Linked DNA regions of Homo sapiens: all the other regions are linked to region 1. Evidence: promoter capture Hi-C in 16 types of primary human blood cells and fetal thymus (Javierre and others, 2016). All regions are on one chromosome and are shown on one strand. The core of a region is centred on a gene start or on the middle of the fragment in contact, and the rest is flanking DNA. Distances in the headings are between cores, read along the strand shown. Region 1 holds the start of FBXO17 (F-box protein 17). Region 2 overlaps RYR1 (ryanodine receptor 1). Region 3 overlaps RYR1 (ryanodine receptor 1). Region 4 holds the start of IFNL2 (interferon lambda 2).

What was found. Contacts are between HindIII fragments. The CHiCAGO score rates a contact against its expected background, and 5 or more counts as called.
Region 2: a contact is called between a fragment that was not itself captured here and the fragment with the promoter of FBXO17 in region 1, in 1 of 17 cell types (erythroblasts). The highest score is 6.1, in erythroblasts.
Region 3: a contact is called between a fragment that was not itself captured here and the fragment with the promoter of FBXO17 in region 1, in 1 of 17 cell types (naive B cells). The highest score is 5.7, in naive B cells.
Region 4: a contact is called between the fragment with the promoter of IFNL2 here and the fragment with the promoter of FBXO17 in region 1, in 9 of 17 cell types (erythroblasts, M0 macrophages, activated CD4 T cells and 6 more). The highest score is 9.0, in erythroblasts.

Annotation. Positions count from the first base shown.
Region 1 is chr19:38,974,367-38,977,279 of GRCh38, forward strand. It overlaps FBXO17 (F-box protein 17), which reads right to left and starts at 1,376. Exons shown (of 6, transcript NM_024907.7): 1 at 1,220-1,376. The HindIII fragment of the contact is 5,979 bases long and covers 1,255-2,913 here.
Region 2 is chr19:38,477,645-38,480,557 of GRCh38, forward strand. RYR1 (ryanodine receptor 1) reads left to right here. Exons shown (of 106, transcript NM_000540.3): 30 at 66-226; 31 at 791-956. Among named protein-coding and RNA genes, the nearest start is that of RYR1, 45 kb to the left of the region's middle. RefSeq lists a silencer at 1,053-1,396. The HindIII fragment of the contact is 1,999 bases long and covers 379-2,377 here.
Region 3 is chr19:38,531,830-38,534,742 of GRCh38, forward strand. It overlaps RYR1 (ryanodine receptor 1), which reads left to right. Exons shown (of 106, transcript NM_000540.3): 77 at 661-712; 78 at 842-907; 79 at 2,891-2,913. Among named protein-coding and RNA genes, the nearest start is that of MAP4K1-AS1, 63 kb to the right of the region's middle. The HindIII fragment of the contact is 7,271 bases long and covers 1-2,913 here.
Region 4 is chr19:39,266,919-39,269,831 of GRCh38, forward strand. It overlaps IFNL2 (interferon lambda 2), which reads left to right and starts at 1,478. Exons shown (of 6, transcript NM_172138.2): 1 at 1,478-1,660; 2 at 1,759-1,940; 3 at 2,234-2,311; 4 at 2,570-2,719; 5 at 2,820-2,903. The coding sequence starts at 1,651. The HindIII fragment of the contact is 23,103 bases long and covers 1-2,913 here.

The DNA of each region.
Region 1 (2,913 bases), core at 126-2,625:
CGCGCACGCCCGGCCTAAAAATATATTTTTTAAAAAGAAGCTCCTTAGCCAAGCCTTACAAAAAGAGAGTCAACAGATACTAGGTATATTTAATGGAACAATAAATACAAGTTAAAAAAATTATTTTATGTTAGAAAAGTAGCCAATAGAGAAGCCGAAAGTAATGTCCTGACTATACAGGGAGGTGATTATATAGGGAGGAGGAAAACCACGGAGATGATCAAAGTTGTCTCCTATTTTTAGCAAGGGATCCATGGACGCGTTGTCTAAAAGTTGATGAAATAAGAAATAACAATCCAAAAATATGCTGTAAAGATTTGGAAATAGATACCAGAGGAATAAAAAGTGGAAAAAGTTAAAAACGAGGCACCAGCGATCACGAGTTACTTCTTGCCATTTTTGAAAAGTAATGTAGTTAACAAAAAAATGTATTTGGCCGACAGGGGTTGGGGGCGGTGGTGAGGGAGAGGTTGTTGTTTAAAGGCGTGTTGTTTTCCATGCAAAGCTCTGTCCTGTCCTACGTGTCTGAGTGTCGTGTATTACTGGAACATTTTTAAAGAAGTATTATTTATTTTACAACTAGACTCCCATAATATTTGTCTTTCAAAATATGGAGTAAATAGACGCTGTCTAAAGTTGAAGAGGCAGTATACAGAGCTTTCGAACATATCACTGAACATTGCAAAAGTAACTTGGCAGAACAAAATTTAAATTGAGGGTTGGGGCCGCAGCGAAACACATAATGTGCCCAAGTTGCTAAATCGAGAAACCGCCCTCCAAGGCTTCTGATTCACAGATTCTGCGAAGGGACTGACGGCCAGAAGACAGAAAATCCAGCAACGGTAAAAAGCGGCCTGGCCTTCCCCGGGCTGTTGCGCCCACGTGTTGGTTTGCAGCGTTTGGCAGGGGTTTTGGATGGTGGCCTCCGCGGACGAGCGCAGGGATGGAGAGGCCTGGGCGTTCGAACACCCACGTTCAAAGCAAAGCCCTTCCAGATTTAGGGCTTTCTAACGTGCATTTGTATAACTTTGGGTTTAAAGGAGCCTCAGGCCGAGGGAGGGCCCGGGAAAGCGACGCTGCGGGTTATGGGACTCCCAGGGACCCGCCCCTCCGGGCAGGGCCTGGCGCGGGAATCCTTCCCGGGGCGCCCCAGCTGTGGGCGAGAACGGGACTGACGCTTGGGTCCCGACCTGGGTCCCCTACCTGTCCCGGCGCTCACCTGGCGGGCTGCTCGGAGGCGGCAGCGGCGGGCTAAGCTTCCCTTTCCCACTTTGTTCTGGGAGGCAGTCGAGGGGCTCCCCGTGATCGGCGTGGCCCAGGGGGCCCCGGGACCGGCGGTCTGGGCGGTCGGTCCTCTCCCGGGGCGTGGCGGCTGCAGCCCGGCGCCGGGGGCGGCGACTCTGAGATCCAGCGGGCGGGGGCGGGAGGCCGCCCCTCCTCCGGCTGCGGGGCCCAGCGGGAGCGAGGGCGGGCGGGCGGGGGAGCTTGGAGGGCTGCGTGCAGCGAGGGGGAGGCCCAGTTGCCGCGAGGCCAGCGGGGAGCGGGGCCAGCCCCGCGCCCCTAGGATCCGGGGCCCACCCCTGGGAGAGCCACCTCCTCTGGGTGTGCGAGTTCCACATCCCCAAGACGCCCCCGCGGGGGGACTGGTCCTAGCTCCCCACCCCCACCCAAATTCCGTTTCCTTCTGGTCCTGGCCTCCTGCTTGCGGCCGTCTCCACCCCTCACATCCATGGGATCCTGCACAGGTCCACGGTTGGTAAACCGCTTAGCTGTGAGCCCGACCCAGGGCCTGATTCGAAACACTTGGATCAAAGTCCCTGGCCACAGGGATTTTCTTGTATTTACGTTGCTTCCCAGGGCCAGATTCTCAGAAGCCCGGGGCTGATCTTAAATTAAATCCCTTCACCACACGCACTCTCTGTGGCAATGACAAACCTGTACCCTTCCACCTTAGGACTCCCCTGTCCTCCCCATCCCCCCAGCTATAGACAACTGAATTAATCCGGAGGTTCAGTTTCGGTCAGGCTGGGGCCGCGACCCATTTTCTCCCTTTACCTCTGCCCTTGGGTCTTTGCAGTCCCTTCTGATGGCCCTAGATTGCACCAGGGACCTCAAGGTGACTGATCTCAGACACCCCAGAGCTAGTTTTCTGGAAGCCAGGCCTCCCCCACGCTGGTAAATCATTCTCCAGGCCCACTGGCTCATATCTGCCACTGTGCTAAATGCTTTGTATGCATGACCTCCTCATGGACGCCTCTCCCGAGAAACTGAAGTCCAGAGATACCTGGTCTGTTGCACGTAGTCCAAGTCGCTAGCTTGGAGGGGTCACACAGCCAGAGAGCCTGGATTCCCTAAAGCCCCTTCCCCTAGAAACCTCAGCCAGGCCCCACAGCGCCATCGTGAGGACGGCGTGAGACTGCGTGTGCAGCGCGGAGCACAGTGCTGGACTCAGAGCCAACGCTAATTTGACTACTATTACATTATTTGTAACAACCGCCTTTGAAAGCATTTTCTGCTGTGGGTTGTAAAATTACTGTATTATTGGTAGAGTTTTTAGCACAGATCCACACGCAGTTCCTTATGTGAAAGGCGTAGGCCTAGGTTTGTTTTGCATTCCGGATTTTGGGGGGTTTATTTATTTTATTTTAGTTTTTTGAGACGGAGTCTCGCTCTGTTGCCCAGGCTGGAGTGCAGTGGCTAGATCTTGGCTCACTGCAAGCTCCACCTCCCGGGCTCAAGCAATTCTTGTGCCTCAGCCTCCCGAGTAGCTGGGATTACAGGAACGCGCCACCACGCCTGGCTAATTTTTGTATTTTTAGTAGAGAGGGGGTTTGGCCATGTTGGCCAGGCTGGTCTCGAACTCTTGACCTCAGGTGATCTGCCTGTCTTGGCCTCCCAAAGTACTGGGATTAC
Region 2 (2,913 bases), core at 128-2,627, 500 kb before region 1:
AGTCCCAGGGAGCCCGAGTCCCTGACTTCCAGACTGACCACTAGTTCCCCTCCTTGTGTCACCAGTACTATTACTCCGTGAGGGTCTTTGCTGGACAGGAGCCCAGCTGCGTGTGGGCGGGCTGGGTCACCCCTGACTACCATCAGCACGACATGAGCTTCGACCTCAGCAAGGTCCGGGTCGTGACGGTGACCATGGGGGATGAACAAGGCAACGTCCACAGCAGGTGCCGGGGCTGGGGGGAGGTGGGAGGTGCAGGGTGGGGAGGGCAGGAGGCAGTCAGAGCTCCCGACACCAGCTCTGTGGCTGCCTGGTTGTGGGACCTAGGAACTTTCTGGAGCGGGAGGATTCTCTGGGGCACTGGGCACCCAGCTCGGAAGCTTCCCTCCTCCTCTTTTTCCTCCTCTCTTCCTGCCCTGGTATTTTTCTTCTCCTCCTCCTCCTCTTTATGCATTTCTCCTATTCCATTTTCTCCTTTTCCTTCTCATCCTGTTTCATCTCACCCTTCTCCTTCTCTGTCATCTCATTCTCTCTCCTCCTGCTTCCCTTGCTTTCCCTCCTTTCAGACCCCCACCCCCATCCTGACTCCCCACTGCGCCAGCTGCTAGGAATCCCAGCTCCGAAGAGCTCAGTGTCCGGGGCGAGGGGTTTCAGCTCTCAGGTCTGCAGGCGGTGGGTGTTTGGGGATGGGACTCTGAGGTTGTGTGTTTCCGGGAGCTTGGGGAAGGGGGTGTCCAGGGTCCAGAGCTACTCACATGAGGAGTGCAGTGACCGCTTCTGTCTCCTGCAGCCTCAAGTGTAGCAACTGCTACATGGTGTGGGGCGGAGACTTTGTGAGTCCCGGGCAGCAGGGCCGGATCAGCCACACGGACCTTGTCATTGGGTGCCTGGTGGACTTGGCCACTGGCTTAATGACCTTTACAGCCAATGGCAAAGAGAGCAACACCTTTTTCCAGGTGAGTCCAGGCCACAGCAATTTAGCGAGAGCATCATGTCCCAGCATCCCAGGACAGCTCTTATAGATGTCCCCTGAGGCCAGACCTCAGAGATGGAACAAAAACAGCTCCTAGGCTGTCCTCAAGAGGTCGCTGGGAGACCACCTTGTTGAAACTTCCATGAAACTAAGGCCCAGACTGGAGGAGATACAGAATCTCACTCTGTTGCCCAGACTGGAGTGCAATGGGACGATCTTGGCTCACTGCAACCTTCGCCTCCTGGGTTAGAGGGATTCTCCTGCCTCAGCCTCCTGAGTAGCTGGGATTACAGGCGAGCACCACAACAGCCGGCTAAGTTTTATGTTTTTAGTAGAGACGAGGTTTCACTGTGTTGGCCAGGCTGGTCTCAAATTCCTGACCTCAAGTGGTCCACCCACCTCGGCCTCCCAAAGTGCTGGGATTACAGGCGTGAGCCACCACACCCAGCCAGAGTCCAGCCTTGACCTTGGAAAGAGGTTTCTGTTCCCTCTTGAGCTGGGTGACACCAGTCACCAACTTCTCTCCAACCAGGGAACACGCTAGGATGGGCCAGAATCCTAAGGTGGCCTTTTCCTTTTCAACATTTTATTCTGAAAAATTTCAATCATACAGCAAAATTGAAGGAGCTATGTAGATAACACCCTGTACCCACCACCTGGAATCTACTATCAATGTTGTAGATATTGGCTTTATCACATATTCACCTACCTGTCCATTAATCTAAGGTGGGTTTGTACAACTTTATTTTAATTTTTTGGCATCCATTGTTGGTTATGAAATTTTATTGCATTTTATTTTCTTTATTTTGAGACAGGGCCTCACTCTGTCCCCCAGGCTGGAGTGCAGTGGTGTGATCACAGCTGACTGCAGCCTCAACTTCCCAGGCTCAAGCAATCCTTCTGTCTCAGCTTCCTAAGTAGCTGGGACTATAGGCATGCACCACCTTGACTAGCTGATTTTTTGTGTGTATTGTTTGTAGAGATGGGTTTTCCTCATATTGTCCAGGCTGGTCTCTCGCTTCTGGGCTCAAGCGATCTCCCCACCTTGGCCTCCCAAAATGCTGGGATTACAGGCTTGAGTCACTGTGCCTGGCTTATTTTTTATTTTTATTTTTTGAGACAGGGTTTCGCTCTGTTACCCAGGCTGGAGTGCCATGGTGAGATCACAGCTCACTGCAGCCACAACCTTCCTGGACTCAAGCGATCCTCCCACTTCAGCCTCTTGAATAGTTGAGAACACAGGCACGTGCCACCATGCCCAGCTAATTTTTTTTGTATTTATTGTGCAGACGGGGTCTCACTATGTTGCCCAGGCTGGTCTCAAACTCCTGGTCTCAAGCAATCCTTCTGCCTCAGCCTCCCAAAGTGCTGGGATTGCAGGCGTGAGCCACTGCTCCTGGCTAAAGCTTTATGTTAAATGGAGAATTAAAAACGTATACAAGAATGGAATAGTATAATGAACTGCCATGCCCCTGTCACACAGCTTCAACTGTCACCCACTCACAGCCAATCTTGTTTCATCTTTTTTGTCTGTTTGTTTTTTGAGAGAGGGTCTCCCTCTGTCACCCAGGCTGGAGTGCAGTGGCGCAATCTCGACTCATTGCAACCTCTGCCTCCCAGGTTCAAGTGATCCTCCCACCTCAGCCTCCTGAGTAGCTGGGACTACAGGTATGCACCACCATGCCTGGCTAATTTTTTTTAGTTTTAGTGGAGACAGGATCTTGCTATGTTGCCCAGGCTGGTCTCAAACTCTTGGGCTCAAGCAATCCTCCTGCCTCAGCCTCCCAAAGTGATGGGATGACAGGTATAAGCCACTGCGCCTGGCTTGTTTCATCTTTTTATATCTACTTCCCTTCCACACCCACTGGATAATTTTGAAGGAAATTGCAGACATCAGATAGTTTCCTCTGTTTTCAGTGTGTAGCTTTAAAAGATAAGGA
Region 3 (2,913 bases), core at 288-2,787, 440 kb before region 1:
GGGAGGTTGAGGCTGCAGTAAGCCTTGATGGCACCACTGCACTCCAGCTTGGCCAACAGAGCAAGACCCTGTCTCAAGAACAAAATAAACAAACAAAACAACTCCCAGAATGGATTTTACTGGACAGCATGGACAACATGACCATTTCTTACCTGTCATCATGGCCACACAGATAAAAGTCCTCATCGGCCATGCATTTGTCACAAGCCACCCTGGCAATGGCCACTCCAGCCACCTGAGTCACACAGCCTGAACATGGGGAGGGTTGGCCCTCCAAAGAAAACCAGAAGCTCTTTTTTTTTTTTTTTTTGAGATGGAGTCTTGCTCTGTCACCCAGGCTGGAGTACGGTGGCGCAATGTCAGCTCACTGCAACCTCTGCCTCCCGGGTTCAAGCAATTCTCCTGCCTCAGCCTCCCGAGTAGCTGGGATTACAGGCAAGCACCATCACACCCGGCTAATTTTTTGTACTTTTAGTAGAGACGGGGTTTCACCATGTTGGCTAGGTTGGTTTCAGACTCCTGATCTCAAGTGATCTGCCTGCCTCAGCCTCCCAGAGTGTTGGGATTACAGGCATGAGCCACCGCACCCTGCCCAGAAGCTCTTATAAGATGGGGGTCCTCTCCACCGGGTCCTGACCACTCCCCTGCTTACTTCCCCAGCAAACTGGATGAGGATTACCTGTACATGGCCTATGCTGATATCATGGCAAAGGTGAGGCCCTACCCCCCTCTTCTGGGGCAGATTTCCCTCTCCCCACCTGCAGTGCTTGTCCACAAAAAGGGCTGGGGCGGGATGGAGGGGTCTGCTTTGTTCATCCCTTAACTGATGCCCCCTCCCCAGAGCTGCCACCTGGAGGAGGGAGGGGAGAACGGTGAAGCTGAAGAGGAGGTTGAGGTCTCCTTTGAGGTAGGTGGGCTCAGGAGGTCCTGGAGGGAAGGGATGGGGGACCCTGACTGCAGTCATCTCCCATTCATTCAGCATGTGTTCACAGAGCAAAGCTCTGGGGACACAGCAGTGACCAAGTCAGTCCACTGGGGAGACAGATACACCCGCCAAACTAACACCACGGAGTGTACACCATGGTCATGGGGGAAGCTCAGGCAGAGGGGTCAGGGCTGGAATTGGGGAGGCTCAGGCAGAGGGGTCAGGGCTGGGATTGAGGAGGCTCAGGCAGAGGGGTCAGGGTTGGGATGATGGGGATACAGGCAGAGGGGTCAGGGCCAAGATGGGGGAACCTCAGGGGGATAAAGCAGCCCAAACAAGGTGCCTGACCCAGCCTGCAGGAAAATGTATCAGGGAGGGCTTCTCGGAGGAGGGGACTTCTGAGCAGAAGGATAAAAGGAGCCTGCCAGTTGAAGAAAAAGAGAAAAATGTTCTACGTAGGGAGAATAGTATATGCCAAGGCCAGGCAGCAAGAAAGAGCTAGTAAACATGCAATTCACCGATCCATTCATTCATTGAGACAGTTAGCAAGCATTTACTTCATAGTTTTCTTCACTGTTTCTGTGCCAGAGTCCCTTCTGGCATCTGGTGAAGACTTTCTCAGGATCATGTTTTTAAATGTATAAAATGAATTCATAGCAGAGGAAACAAGTATTGAATAGCTATCAAAATATTTTAAAAATGAATTTGTGATCCAGTAATACTTGTACATTGTTAATCTATCAAATAAGATCTAAGGCTGGGCGCAGTGGCTCACACTTGTAATTCCAGCACTTTGGGAGGCCAAGGCGGGTGGATCACCTGAGGCCAGGAGTTCAAGACCAGCCTGGCCAACATGGTGAAACCCCATCTCTACTAAAAATACAAAAATGAGCTGGGCATGGTGGCAGGCACCTGTAATCCCAGCTACTCAGGAGGTTGAGGCAGGAGAATCGCTTGAACCCGCGAGGTGGAAGTTGCAGTGAGCCGAGATCACGCCATTGCACTCCAGCCTGGGCGAGACTCCATCTCAAAAAAAAAAAAAAAAGATCTAGCAGTAGATCCAACAGCTACTATAATTGAGAAGTAGTGATGAACATAACTGATATTTAAAGACATCTTTGAGCCATTGTGAGTGAGTCTCTCTTCCTGGACCAAAAGAGCAGAATTTGAATAGGAAATGGTTCTAATTCTGCAACAATAATGTGATATGGAATATACAGCAATAATAATGTGATATGGAACCATCTGTAATTTTTTTTTTTTTTTTTTTTGAGACAGAGTCTCGCTGTGTCGCCCAGGCTGGATGGAGTGCAGTGGCGTGATCTCAGCTCACTGCAACCTCCACCTCCCGGGTTCAAGCAATTCTCCTGCCTCAGCCTCCCAAGTAGCTAGGACTACAGGCTCATGCCACCACGCCTGGCTAATTTTTTGTATTTTTAGTAGAGGCGGGGTTTCACTGTGTTAGCCAGGATAGTCTTGACCTCTTGACCTCGTGATCTCCCTGCCTCGGCCTCCCAAAGTGCTGGGATTACAGATGTGAGCCACCTTGCCCAGCCACATCTGTGATTTTTATTGGTGACAAAGCCACAGGTTCTGCTAATATCGCTGTGATTTATGGCTTCATCCATATAGGAAGGAAATGCTTCATTTCTGTTAGAGGGCGGAAAACATAAAAATGTAACTTTTCATCATCCAAGTTCACAGATGGCCTGGAGGCCCATGGGCCCAGGTTAAGACTGCTGCATGCCCAGCTCTGATTTATGTAGATCTTGCCTAATGCCTAGCCCCGTGCTAGGTACAGGAGATACATCGAGGGTGTGAGCCCCAGGGGATGGAGGGAGCTCATGGTTGAAGGAGTGAGTTGTGGATGTGGCTGGAACAGGGAGGGCAGAAGTGAGAATGTGAGGGGGAAAGGCTGGGCTGGAAAGCCTGGACTTGCCTTCATGTGTCTGCCTCCCTTCCCAGGAGAAACAGATGGAGAAGCAGAG
Region 4 (2,913 bases), core at 228-2,727, 290 kb after region 1:
TCGTCACACCTCAGTTCTTGAGCAGAGCCTCATATTCCTGAGTCCTTCCTTGCCTGGGCAATTAAGAAATATTGGCCTTGGCTGGGCTCAGAGGCTCATGCCTGTAATCCCAGCACTTTGGGAGGACGAGGAAGGTGGATCATGAGGTCAGGAGTTCAAGACTAGCCTGGCCAGCATGGTGAAACCCTGTCTCTACTAAAAATACAGAAATTAGCTGGGCATGGTGGCACATGCCTGTAATCCAAGCTACTCAAGAGGCTGAGGCAGGAGAATCACTTGAACCCAGGAGGCAGAGGTTGCAGTGAGCTGAGATGGTGCCTCTGCACTCCAGCCTGGGCAACAGAGCGAGACTCCATCTCTCTTGCTCACTCACTCTCTCTCATGCTCTCTCTCTCTCTCTCTCTCTCTCTCTCTCTCTATATATATATATATATATATATATACACACACATATATGCCTCTGGCCGGGCGCGGTGGCTCACGCCTATAATCCCAGAACTTTGGGAGGCCGAAGAAGGCAGATCACGAGGTCAGGAGTTCAAGACCAACCTGGCCAATATGGCAAAACCCCGTCTCTACTAAAAATACAAAAATTAGTTGGGCGTGGTGGTGCATGCCTATAGTCCTTTCTACTCGGGAGGCTGAAGCAGAAGAATCCCTTGAACCAAGGAGGTGGAGGTTGCAGTGAGTCGAGATCACGCTGCTGCACTCCAGCCTGGGCTACAGAGCAAGACTCCATCTCAAAAAAAAAAGAAAAAAGAAAGAAAGAAAGAAATCATGGCCTCTGGGCACAGTGGCTCATGCCTGCAACCCCAGCAATTTGGGAGGCCAAGACAGACAGATCACTTGACGTCAAGAGTTCGAGACCAGCCTGGCCAATTGGTGAACTGTCATCTCTACTAAAACCATAAAAATTAGCTGGGAATGGTGGCACAAATCTGTAATCTCAGCTACTTGGGAGGCTAAGGCAAGAGAATCGCTTGAACCCAGGAGGTGGAGGTTGCAGTTAGTCAAGATTTTGCACTGCACTCCAGCCTGGGTGACCGAACAAGACCCTGTCTCAAAATATATATATATATATATGCCAGGAGGGGTGGCTCAGGCCTGTAATCTCAGCACTTTAATAGGCTGGGTGAGGAGGATGGCTTGAGCCCAGGAGTTTGAGGCTGCAGTGAGCTGTGATCATGCCATTGCACTCCAGTGACAGAGTGAGACCCTGTCTTAAACAACAACAAAACCAGAGCAGGTGGAATCCTCCTGGGAACATACCTTCCTGTAGGTTACCCCTGAGTCTCCATCAGTTTCTCTTTCCCTCCAGCTGCTCATCTGGCTCACTAGCCCTGCCCTGCTCTGGGCTTTCCCAGCCTGGGGCTCCCCTGGTGGCCGGTGTCTTACCTGAGGCTGTGTTTTCACTTTTCCTACATCAGCTGGGACTGCCCTTCTGTCAGGGATAAAAGCTGCCCCATGGAGCTCAGGCAGGAATTACATCCCAGACAGAGCTCAAAACTGACAGAAAGAGTCAAAGCCAGGACACAGTCTGAGATCCAGAAGAGGGGACTGAAAAGAACAGAGACTCCAGACAAGACCCAAACAGACCCTGGGTGACAGCCTCAGAGTGTTTCTTCTGCTGACAAAGACCAGAGATCAGGAATGAAACTAGGTGAGTCCCACATCTCTGTCCGTGCTCAGCTCCTGCAGCCCCTGCCCTCAGTGGGCAGCCTCTCCATCCCCTCAGCTCCCTTTCTCTCTGTGACACAGACATGACTGGGGACTGCACGCCAGTGCTGGTGCTGATGGCCGCAGTGCTGACCGTGACTGGAGCAGTTCCTGTCGCCAGGCTCCACGGGGCTCTCCCGGATGCAAGGGGCTGCCACATAGCCCAGTTCAAGTCCCTGTCTCCACAGGAGCTGCAGGCCTTTAAGAGGGCCAAAGATGCCTTAGTGAGTCTCCCCCTGCCCTCCTGCCATGGACTAGCCTCCACCCCCACTCCAAGCGTCACCATGCTTTCCCACTCCCAGCTTCCTTCACTGGGCTAGCCTCCACCCTCCCTGCAGTGGGCTATCTCATGCTCCTACTGTAGGGACTGACTCATGTTTTCCTGTAGAAGAGGGTCCTCTACCATCCTCCCAGCAGTTAACCTCCCCTATCCTGTTGTCAGCCATCCTCCAATCCCACCAGGATGGTCTAACCTCCACCCCTCCTGCTGGGGCTAACCTGTGCCTTTGCTGTCTAGGAAGAGTCGCTTCTGCTGAAGGACTGCAGGTGCCACTCCCGCCTCTTCCCCAGGACCTGGGACCTGAGGCAGCTGCAGGTGAGAGGGGGAGTCAGGCCCACCCCTGCTCTCCCAGCCCCACTCACCTGGCTCTGTAGTGGCCCCTTCACCGTCTCTTTCTCCCTTGTCTCTCTCTCTTCTCCTCACACCTGCTCTCCCTTCCCTCCGCTCCCACCTGACCACACTGGCTGTGCCCTCTCCCCTGTGCCTGTCACCTTCACTTGTTCCTCTCTATCCTGCTCCCCAACCTGTTCCCCTCACCTCCCCCCTCACCTGCTCTTTCTCACCTCTCCTCAGGTGAGGGAGCGCCCCATGGCTTTGGAGGCTGAGCTGGCCCTGACGCTGAAGGTTCTGGAGGCCACCGCTGACACTGACCCAGCCCTGGTGGACGTCTTGGACCAGCCCCTTCACACCCTGCACCATATCCTCTCCCAGTTCCGGGCCTGTGTGAGTCGTTGGGGCCTGGGCACCCAGGTCTGTGAGCTCTGAGCAGCGTCCTTCCCCTTGCCAAGGCCCCGGCTCACACACCGCCCTCCTCTGCCCACAGATCCAGCCTCAGCCCACGGCAGGGCCCAGGACCCGGGGCCGCCTCCACCATTGGCTGTACCGGCTCCAGGAGGCCCCAAAAAAGGTGAGTGACC